Linked DNA regions of Homo sapiens: region 1 is linked to region 2. Evidence: promoter capture Hi-C in 16 types of primary human blood cells and fetal thymus (Javierre and others, 2016). All regions are on one chromosome and are shown on one strand. The core of a region is centred on a gene start or on the middle of the fragment in contact, and the rest is flanking DNA. Distances in the headings are between cores, read along the strand shown.

Evidence for each region. The method cuts DNA at HindIII sites, captures the fragments that hold promoters and counts their contacts. A CHiCAGO score of 5 or more calls a contact.
Region 1: a fragment that was not itself captured here is called in contact with the fragment with the promoter of SMC1B in region 2 in 4 of 17 cell types (naive CD4 T cells, naive CD8 T cells, monocytes and 1 more); the score reaches 5.5 in naive CD4 T cells.

The regions. Positions count from the first base shown.
Region 1 is chr22:45,262,050-45,267,707 of GRCh38, forward strand. No RefSeq gene overlaps it. Among named protein-coding and RNA genes, the nearest start is that of UPK3A, 20 kb to the right of the region's middle. RefSeq lists enhancers at 1,301-1,350, 1,361-2,196, 1,621-1,810. The HindIII fragment of the contact is 8,481 bases long and covers 1-5,658 here.
Region 2 is chr22:45,409,965-45,415,500 of GRCh38, forward strand. SMC1B (structural maintenance of chromosomes 1B) reads right to left here and starts at 3,635. Exons shown (of 25, transcript NM_148674.5): 1 at 3,495-3,635. The coding sequence starts at 3,603. It overlaps RIBC2 (RIB43A domain with coiled-coils 2), which reads left to right and starts at 3,729. Exons shown (of 7, transcript NM_015653.5): 1 at 3,729-4,051; 2 at 4,358-4,439. The coding sequence starts at 3,923. RefSeq lists an enhancer at 3,718-4,551. The HindIII fragment of the contact is 11,352 bases long and covers 1-5,536 here.

The sequences.
Region 1 (5,658 bases), core at 2,974-5,473, 150 kb before region 2:
AACCACAGGGACCCAAAGAGGGCATCACAGCCCTGGCTTGGGAGACTCCCCGGTCTGGGCTCCCCAAAGGGCTGCAGCTCTTCCTTCCTTCTCTTCCCCTGCAACGTGGCCAGCAAGGGGCATGTCTCAGCACTGTTTGTGTTATAGCTCTTTTAGCCTTATTCAGTGGGTCCCAAGTTCTTGTCCTCCACTCAGGAAGAATGAGGTACGGAAACAAGAGGGTGAGCAAGACGAAGAGGAGCTTTATTGAGTGACAATAGCTCAGAGGAGGCCCTGGAGAGGGCAGTTCCTCACTACAGCTGGTCATCCGACGTCTGCTCAGCTCTGGCTGAGCCTGGGGCTTCTGTCAGCCTCAGAGAGGGGGAAGTTCATGCTGACTGGTCCATGGGCGGCCATGGGCAGGCCCAGAAAAGGCAACACAAGTTCGCACTCCAGTCCACGGCACTGACAGCCTGGCCCCCAGCCTTCAGGGCCTCCCTGGCCTGAAGGTGGGCCTCACCAGGGACTCACCCCCTTCTGCCCAGAAACCTGTCTGCCTCCTGCTGCCATTCATGGCGCCCAGGCTATAGGTACCAAGGGGCGTCTGCAGGCCACTGCCAAGCTGCCCTCAGTTCCTCCTCAGCTTCATTCCTATGCTCATCAGTGCCCAAAATCTGGAGAGGGCTGAGACGGCAGGGGGCTGGCATGTCAGCACTGCCCTGAGTGTGTGCACACCTGGCTGGGCTGTGACAAAACCCAGGCTCGGCCCCAATTTTGCCCCAAGATCAGAGCAGGTGCCGACAGCAAGGAGAAGCCAGGCAGTGGGAGCAGGCATTTCCAAGCCTGTGAGGGCAGGGGGGCCTTCCAGGGCCCCCAAGAGTGCAGAGATGCCTGGGTCCGCAGTGGCAGTTAGGGCCGGTGCAGCTATGTGGGATGTGGGGCAGGACTCCAGCCTGCTCCGTGGAGCGGGAGGCCCCGGTCTGCAGCTGTGGTTTGGGCGGCTGCAGCTGCACCTGGGAGGGTGGGGTTCCCACCTGCTCCCAGGCTCCGAGAGCACAGGGATGCCTGGGTCCACAGCCGTGGCTTGGGCAGCTGCAGCGGCATGCAGGGAGCTGCCACCCCGACTCAGAATGGGAGAGGCTCCTGCCTGTCCCCAGCTCCTGCCAGTTCCATGGAACATGCAGCCCCAGCCGTGCCTCCCTGCTGCAGCTGGTGTGACAGCAGCAGCCGCTCCAGATGGCCTGCCACTGCCACCACTGAGACAGGTGTGTGTATAGAGGTCCATTTTATTCAGGCTGGCGAAGGAAGGCTTCTCAGGGGAGGTGGCCCTTGGGCTTCCTCCAGATGCTCTGGAGTCCTCAGTGTCTGACTCCGGCAAGTCTTTCTGAAGAACAAGCAAAGCTCTTTCTCTTGCCACCGCCAAAACATTTCCAAGGGACTCTTCAGAAGAGAGTCAGTCTGCACAGCTCCCCTGGGGCCTGGGCGGTGGGGGCAGAGATCTTATCCAACTTCTCAAATGAGATTCTGCAGGCTCCAGTGACTCGCTGGAGGTCACCCAGCTGGTAAGAAGAGGAACTGGAACTTAACCTCAGGGCTTCCACCCCGGCTCCTTCTTCTGCTCCACAAATGCAGCCCAAGCCTTGAGGGCAGTGAATAGGTCAAGGGCCAGGACAGTAGCCTGGAGCCACCCCACGAGGGTGTGGGAACCGAGGGCGGGGTGGCATGGTGAACATGGAGGAGGGAAGCCCCTATTTTTCCTGAATCCCATGCCCTGGGATCCCAGAGCAAGGCTGGCCAGGGCTGACCTTCCTTCTCATTGCAGCATCTGCTCTCAGGGCCAAGGATTGCTCTGATGACAGACTACAGGCAGAGCGAGTGGCCGGCAGGAGCCACGTGCTTCCGGAGCCTCCTGCGGCCACCCCTGCCTCCGCACTCCCCCTACAGTCCACCTCGACACAGCAGCCCAGGCCACGTTTCCAAAGCCAAAGTCAGATCATGCCATTCCTGTTCTCATCTCACACAGAATAAAACCTCAATTCTTGTCTCCGCCTGCAAGTCCCTGTACAATCCGGCGCCTGCTGATCTCATCAAGCTCTCCTGGAACCAAATCACCAGAGCAACACCATGGCAGGGGCCTCCCTCTCAGAGGAGGAGGCATTGACAGGAGATGATCTCAGGGCAGACAGTTCTAGACCAGGACAGAGCTGGAGCTGAGGCCTGAGGCAGCAGGTGCCTAGCCAGGGGCCAGCAAGGAGGTCTGAGTGCTGGAGGTCAATGTTAGAAAATAGTCGGGGCCCAGACCAGGCAGCCCATGAATGGGTTTTTCTTTGGTTCACACAGTATATTACAAAACGGACCCACACATATGTAGTTAACTGAATTTGTTTGTTTGTTTGTTTTTGAGAGAGTCTCTTGCTCTCTTGCCGAGGCTGGAGTCCAATGGTGCAATCTCGGCTCACTGCAACCTCTTGGGTTCAAGTGATTCCCCTGCCTCAGCCTCCCGAGTAGCTGGGACTACAGGCACACACCATACCTGGCTCATTTTTGTAATTTTAGTAGAGACAGGGTTTCACCATGTTGGCCAAGCTGGTCTTGAACTCCTGACCTCAAGTGATCCACCTGCCTTGGCCTCCCAAAGTGCTGGGATTACAGGCGTGAGCCACAGTGCCTGACCAAATTAACTGATTTTTGACCAAAGTGATGAAGCAACTCGGTGGGGAAAGGAAAGTGTTTCCACAAAAAGTGTTGGATCAACTGGACGTCCATATATATATAAAAAAATGAACTTCCACACTTACTTCATACTACATACTAAAATTAATTTGGGGCTGGGTGCAGTGGCTCACACCTGTAATCCCAACACTTTGGGAGGCTGAGGTGGGTGGATCACAAGGTCAGGAGTTTGAGACTAGCCTAACCAACATGGTGAAACCCCATCTCTACTAAACATACAAAAATTAGCCGGGTGTGGTGGCACTCACCTGTAATCCCAGCTACTCAGGAGGCTGAGGCAGGAGAATGGCTTGAACCCAGGAGGTAGAGCTTGCAGTGAGCCAAGATCACACCACTACACTCCAGACTGGGTGACAGAGCGAGACTCCATCTCAAAATAAATAAATAAATAAATAAATTTGGGGGAGTCTATAAAATGGACCACAGACCTAAATGGAAGAGTTAAAACTGTGAAACTTTTACAGGAAAACAGCAGAAAATCTTAGTAACCTTGAGTTAGACAGAGGCTTCTGAAATAGCACACAAAAAGCACAAATTATAAAAGGGATAATTGATAAATTGGACTTTATCCAAATTAAAATTTTTTGGTTTTTGCAAAGCATACATCCAACAAAGGACTTGTATCTCGAACACTTTCTCAGCTTTTTTCCATTCCCTTCCTCATCCAAGGAATATTTTTAGACAATCCTTCCTAATCACCCCCATGGAAATTTAATACACAGGTACCCGTTTATGTATTGTGCGTTTATTGTGCTTTGTACATAAAGAGCACAATTTTTTCATTTCACGAGAACCAATTTTTTCCCATTGGGGGCAATTTTGCCTTCATTGAAAATGCATGATCAGGCCAGACACAGTGGTACACGCCTGTTGTAATCCCAGCGCTTTCAGAGGCAGAGGCAGGCAAATCACTTGAGCTCAGGAGTTTGAGACCAATCTGGACAATATGGTGAAACTCTGTTATCTACAAAAAAGTAAAAAAACTAGCCGGGTGTGGTGGTGCATGCCTGTGGTCCCAGCTACCCAGAAGGCTGTGGTGGGAAGTTCACCCGAGCCCTGGAGGTCGAGGCTGCAATGAGCCACTGCACTCCAGCCCGGGCAACAGAATGAGACCTTGTCAAAAAAAAAAAGAAGAAGAAGAAGAAAATACATGATCTAGAATATTAAAAAAACTCTTATAGTAAACAATAACAACCCATTCTTTTTTTATTTTTAATGGGCAAAAAATTTGAATAAACTTTTCACCAAATAAGATATACAGATGACGAAAATGAAAAGAAGTTCAAAACCATGAGTTCTGGGCGGGCACAGTGGCTCACACCTGTAAGCCCAGCACTTTGGGAGGCCGATGCGGGAGGATCACAAGGTCAGGAGTTTGAGACCAGCCCATCCAACATGGTGAAACCCTGTCTCTACTAAAAATACAAAAATTGGCTGGGCGAAGTGGTTCACGCCTGTAATCCCAGAACTTTGGAAGGCCGAGGCAGGTGGATCACGAGGTCAGGAGTTCGAGACCAGCCTGGCCAAGATGGTGAAACCCTGTCTCTACTAAAAATACAAAAATTAGCTGTGCGCAGTGGCAGGTGCCTGTAATCCCAGCTACTTGGGAGGCTGAGGCAGGAGAATCACTTGAACTCATAAGGCAGAGGTTGCAGTGAGCTGAGATCACGCCACTGCGCTCTAACCTGGGTAACAGAGTGAGACTCCATCTCAAAATAATAATAATAATAATACAGAAATTAGCCTGGTGTAATGCTGCATGCCTATAATCCCAGCTACTCGGGAGGCTGAGGCAGGAGAATCACTTGAACCTAGGAGGCGGAGGTTGCAATGAGCCAAGATTGCGCCATTGCACTCCAGCCAGGGCAACAAGAACAAAACTCTGTCTCAAAAAAAAAAAAAAAAAAAAAAAAAAGATTCCCTAGGGAATGAGATGTTACAGTGAGACACCACTATACATATACCAGAATGGCCAAAATGAAGAAGACTGAACACACTAAGTGTTGGTGAGGATGTGGAGGAACTGGAATTCTCACGCACTGCTGGTGGGAATGTAAATGGATATCCACTGAAAGACAATTTGACAGTTTCTTAAAAAGTTGAACACATGCCTGCCACATGGCCCAGCCATTGTACTCTTAGGTATTTATCCAACTGAAATGAGAGCACATGTCCACATGGAGACTTGAACAGGAAGGTTCATAGCAGCTTTAGAGCTAAAATTTTAAAAGCGCCCATTAACAGGTGAACGGATCAGCTAACTGCATATCCAGTTGCATATCCTACAATTGGATACTACTCGGCAATAAAAAGGAATGAACTATTAATGGCATCTAAGAAAATGGATGAACCCCAAAATAGTTATGCTGAGTGAAAGAAGCCAGACCAAAAAAGAACACATGTTATGATTCCACTTACATGAAATTCTGAAAATCTCAGTCTCATCTATAGTGACAGAAGCAGACCAGTGGTTGCTTGGGGGTGGGATGGGGGTGGGGTGGAGGAGAGGGGAGGGGGGATGAAGAGGGAATGGATTACAAAGGGACAAGGACATACTTTTTCTTTTTCTTTTCTTTTCTTTTTTTTTTTTTTTGAGACGGAGTCTCACTCTGTCACACAGGCTGGAGTGCAGTGGTGCGATCTCGGCTCACTGCAACCTCTGCGTCCGGCGTTCAAGCGATTTTCCTGCCTCAGTCTCCGAAGTAGCTGGGATTACAGGCACCTGCCACCACACCAGCTAATTTTTGTATTTTTAGTAGAGACGGGTTTTCGCCATGTTTGGTCAGGCCGGTTTCAAACTCCTGACCTCAGGTGATCCATCTGCCTCAGCCTCCCAAAGTGCTGGGATTACAGGCGTGAGCCACCGGGCCCCGCCAGGGGCACACTTTTGGGAGTGACGGAAATGGTCATTATCTTACTGTGGTGATGGAGTCACAGAATATACAT
Region 2 (5,536 bases), core at 2,385-4,884:
TATGTGACAATCTCCCGATAAAAACGCTGCACATTGAGTCTTTAGTGAGGTTCCCTGGTGGGCAACATTTCACATGTGTGGACTAGCTGCTGGAGGAATGAAGCACTGAGTGACACCAATGGGTAAGGACTTGGAATCTTGCAACTGGTTTCCTAAGACTTTGCCTCATATATCCTTTCCCTTTGCTGAGTTCGCTTTGTATTTTTTCACTGTAATAAATAATAGTATTGAGTCAAACTATATGTAGAATCCTGTGAGTTTTCCCAACAAATTACTGAACCTAAGGGTAGTTGTGGGCATTCCTAACCCCAATGTTAAATCTGTTACCCAATCATTGGCCCATAATTTTCTCTAAGACAATTTCCAAGGTGCAATGTCAATGCAGCTGTCACCATCACTATTATTTCTCCTTTTCACATCCCTTCCCCTATATCCACAAAGCAGTTTAAATTTTCAGGCTGGGCGCAGCAGCTCACACCTGTAATCCCAGCACTTTGGGAGGCCGAGGCAGGAAGATCACCCGAGGTCAGGGGTTCGAGACCAGCCTGACCAACATGGTGAAACCCCGTCTCTACTAAAATACAAAAAATTAGCCAGCTGTGGTGGCGTGCGCCTGTAATCCCAGCTACTCGGGAGGCTGAGGCAGAAGAATCACTTGGATCCAGAAGGCAGAGGTTGCAGTGAGCTGATATTACACCACTGTACTCCAGCCTGGGCAAGAGAGCAAGACTCCATCTCAAGACAAAAGAAATAATTAATTAATTTTCAATGCCAAAACTAGGAAAGTAACATAAACAAAGCAAAGGAATACTATCAGCCACCGGAAATATGGCTTAGTTTTAGAGGTTTAGGGTCTTTCTAAAAAGAACTAGAAATAAATTGCTGCAAATTTATTTAGCTGAGTCTCAGTCAACTAACAGGTATGAAACGGCTTTTTTGGGTTAATGGATAATCTGCACATTGAGGGCTATTGTAAGACAGTGCATATGGACAAGATAAACATTCACTGAATTAAATTATTAAGTAATTTAAGTATTAAGTAACAAAACTAAACATAAACTTTTAAAATCAATAAGTCAATCCTTATTTAAATCTGCCTAAAATAAATACTTCTCATCCAAATCCATTTATTCCATTAAATTTCATTAATATTGTCCCTGCCTAATAAAGGTTATAGTCTGTCAAGAGAGTCAAGGCAGCATAACATACCACAAAGTGGCAACAACCCAAACTATCAACTGATGGATAAACAAAATGTAGTATATCTATACAGTGAAATATTATTTGAAAATAAGAAGGAAATAAGTACTAATACAAGGAGCAACATAGATGAATCTGAAAAACATTATGCTAAGTGAAAGAAGTCAGACACAAAAGGCCATATATTGTCTGATTCTATTTATACGAAATGTCCCAAATAGGTAAATCCATAGAGACAGAAAGTGAATTAGTAGATACCAGGAGCTAGGTGGAGAGGAAATAACAGGGAGTGATTGCTAATGAGTACAAGGTTTCTTTGGGGGCAATGAAAATGTTTTGGAAGTAGATGGTGATGATGGTTGCACAACTTTTGAATATACTAAAAACCACTGAACGGTGCATTTTATTTATTTATTTATTTTTACTTATTTATTTTTGAGATGCAGTCTTGTTCTGTTGTTGCCCAGGCTGGAGTGCAGTGGCGTGATGTCAGCTCACTGCAGCCTCTGCCTCCCAGGTTCAAGCGATTCTCCTGCCTCAGTCCCCTGAGTAGCTGGGACTACAGGCGTGCGCCACCACGCCAGGCTTTTTTGTATTTTTAGTACAGATGGGGTTTCATCATGTTGGCCAGGCTGGTCTTGAACCCCTACCTCCAGTGATCTGCCTGCCTCAGCCTCCCAAAGTGATGGAATTACAGGTGTGGGCCACCATGTCAGGCCTTATTTTTTTGTTGAGACAGAGTCTTGCTCTGTCGCCCAGGCTGGAATGCAGTGGCACAGTCTTGGCTCACTGCAACCTCCGCCTCCCGGGTTCAAGTGATTCTCCTGCCTCAGTCTCCCAAGTAGCTGGTATTACAGGCACGTGACACCACCCCCAGCTAATTTTTGTATTTTTAGTACAGACAGGGGTTTCACTATGTTGGCCAGGCTGGTTTCTAACTCCTGACCTAAGGTGATCCGCCCGCCTCGGCCTCCCAAAGTGCTGGGATTATAGGCATGAGCCACGGCGCCCGGCCAATTTTATTTTATATTTATCTTATTTTATTTTATTTTAGAGTCGAAGTCTCGCTCTTGTTACCCAGGCTGGAGTGCGGTGGTGCTATCTTGGCTCACTGCAACCTCTGCCTCCCGGGTTCAAGCGATTCTCCTGCCTCAGCCTCCTCAGTAGCCGGGATTACAGGTGCATGTCACCACACCCGATTAATTTTTGTATTTTTAGTAGAGACAGGGCTTCACCATGTTGGTCAGGCTGGTCTCGAACTCCTGATCTCATGATCCACCCGCCTCGGCCTCCTAAAGTGCTGGAATTACAGGTGTGAGCCACCGCGCCCAGCCTTTTTTTTTTTTTTTTTTTTTTTTTTGAGACGAGAGTCGCACTGTGTTGCCAGGCTGGAGTGCAATGGCGTGTCCTTGGCTCACTGCAACTTCCACCTCCCAGGTTCAAGCGATTCTCCCGCCTCAGCCTCCAGAGTAGTTGGGATTACAGGCGTGTGCCACCACACCCAGCTAATTTTGGTATTATTAGTAGAGACCTCCGCAGGTCCTCTGGCCTCTCCAGACCTCAGTTTCCCCAACTATAAAATGGGGAGAGCAGCCATGCGCCATGGCTAACCAAAGACGGTGTCGCCAGGAACTTAGGAAAAGCTCAGTAAACTGGGTCATCATCACTACATTCCTGGGTCAAAGCTCCCTTGGATCCAAATGGTGGTTCTGGCTGCTTGGAACCCATTACCTCCTCGACAGCTCCCTCTCACTTCAACTTCGGATGAGAAGGGAAAAGGGACGCGAGTGACCAGGGCCAAGGGCAAGAGCAGTCCCCGAAGCAGGAGTGAGGGCAGAGAACAGGGCCCAGGGCGGGACCGGGGCGGAGAGGAAGCGTCAGGACCCCCAGGGTGGGGGGCGAGGGTTGGGAGCCCCTGAGATGAAGGGCGAGGGCCGGAGCTGAGGTGGGGTGGGGTCCCTCAGGGTGTCGGAGGAGGGTCGGGAGCCAGGAGGTGGAGGGCGAGAGCGGGGCCCGAGGCGGGGCCGAGTGGAAGGGTCAGGACCTCCGAGGTGGGGCGGAGGGACAAGGGTCGGGACCCCTGAGGTGGACGGCGAGGACCGGGGCTGAGGTGGGGTGATGGGCAGGGGCTGGGCCAGGGCCAGGCCGGGATCCGGTCGCGGTCAGGCTCCGGGACTGGAAGGGGAAGGCCGGCCAGGCGCCCGCGGCAGACGCCCACACCCCACAGGCCACGTGTGGCCTGGACGCCTGGGACGGCGGAGGCGCTCCGGTGGCGCCCTGAGCTGCTCAGTTACCAGAGCCGTTGGGGCCGATGATGCAGGTGAACCTCCGGAAGGGGCCAATGACCTGGCGGCCCCGCCACGACTTGAAATTTTCCACAAGCAGCAGCTCCAGGTGGGCCATGGCGCCGCCCTCCACGCCTCACCCGCGTTATCAAGCGCCCGCGGAAAAAGCGCGGGAAGGGATTCGCCAAGTGTCGCGAGAAGAGAGCGAGACGCGGCAAGCGCGGAGCCGTTCCTTAGCAACGAGTTGTTGACATTTCCGAGAGAGCGGGAGCGTCTGTACCTCTGCGGCGTCACTGGGAGCCCGACGGAAAACTGCGCTAAAGGCTTGTCTTTCCCCTGCCCGACCGAAGGAGCCGACCTTGCCTGCGCTACAGCTTCCTTATTTTCGTCGCCTGTTCTCCTGATCCTGCGTGTTCTAAAAACCCCTTAGGCTTTCCATGGGTTCCCAGACCATGGCGGTGGCGCTGCCCAGGGACTTGCGGCAGGACGCCAACCTGGCAAAGAGGAGGCACGCGGAGCTGTGCAGGCAGAAGCGGGTCTTCAACGCCAGAAACAGGATAATTGGGGTGAAAGGGCAGGGGCCGGGACGGGGTTAGAGCGGCAGATGCGGGCGAGGGGCTGCGTGGAGGGGGAAAGGAGATGAGTTCTAGGATGAAACATCTGAGCCAGGAGGCAGCAAACGGCCTCCTGCAGGGCCAATAATGCTCCCTCTCGAGCTCGCCTGGAGTCACCAACGGTTCTCCTCCCCTGAGCCAGATTTTCTACAACTCGTTTACAGTGGGGCAGAGATTAAAAATAATAATAAGTAGGATTGTTATTACTGAATAAAATGATCTGGCTCTAACCCTTCTCCTCTGTTTTTCCATTTATAGGGAGACACTGAAGCCTGGGATGTTCAAGTTCATGACCAGAAGATAAAAGAAGCTACTGAAAAAGCTAGACATGAAACCTTTGGTGAGCATTTCCTGAATGCTTATCTATTGGTTTAGGATTGTGTGGCTTTAGACTCCAGTCTTCCCCACCGTCCCCCTGCCCCGCCTTTTTTTTTTTATTTTTTATTTTTTTTATTTAATAGAGATAGGGTCTCACTATGTTGCCCAGGCTGGTCTGGAACTCCTGCGTGCAAGTGATCCTCCCACGTCAGTCTCCCAAAGTGCTGGAACTACAGGCATGAGCCACGGTACCCAGCCCTCCTTTCTTCACATATATAAAAAGTTGTCATTTTCACACTCTTCTTCCTTTTAAATTTCACAATTTCTTGTGCCCAGTTAACTTAATGCACTGATTCTTCTCTTAAAAACAGCTATTGAATTCGAATGTGGATTATAAGAAATAGATTTTAAGGGTATATGTATGTTTTCCTTCATTTTCTTAAAAAACTGGATAGGAAAAGCCTTAAACACAGAAAGACACACACACACACTCACTTGCTCTGCTCAAAAGTTTAAGACCGTCTATGAAGGACAGCTGTTTATACCAGACAACACATATGTCCGGGCTCACACCCTCAAGCTGACTCAGAGACAGACATGATTCAAATCATAGTATTCAAGTACCTTGAATACTGTTATTCAAGGTATTATTATTCCACTTCAAATACAACTTATTTTCCCCTATCGTGTCCAACAATTTCAACAATTGTTGAAATTTCACACTTTGAGAGGCTAAAACTAGAGGATCACTTGAGACCAGGAGCTCCAGACTTGCCTGGGCAACAAAGCGAGACCCCATCTCTACAAAAAATAAATTGAAAAAAAAAAAAAAAAGAAATTTCAGTGTTTTTAAACACCATAAAGATTTTTATAATAGAAAAAAAAGCAGGATACAAAATTGTACATACAATGGGCTGTTATGTTTTTAAAATATTTTAAAATATGCTCAGAAGAAGAAGAGAGGAAATATGCCAAAATGTTAGCAGGGTAATGTTGGAGGGATAGAATTATGAGTAAACTTTATTTTCTCCTTTATACTGTTCTGTATGTTCTAAACATTTTATCTTTTTTATTAATATTTTTAGTTATGAGGTAATTCAATCTTACAAAAACAATGTG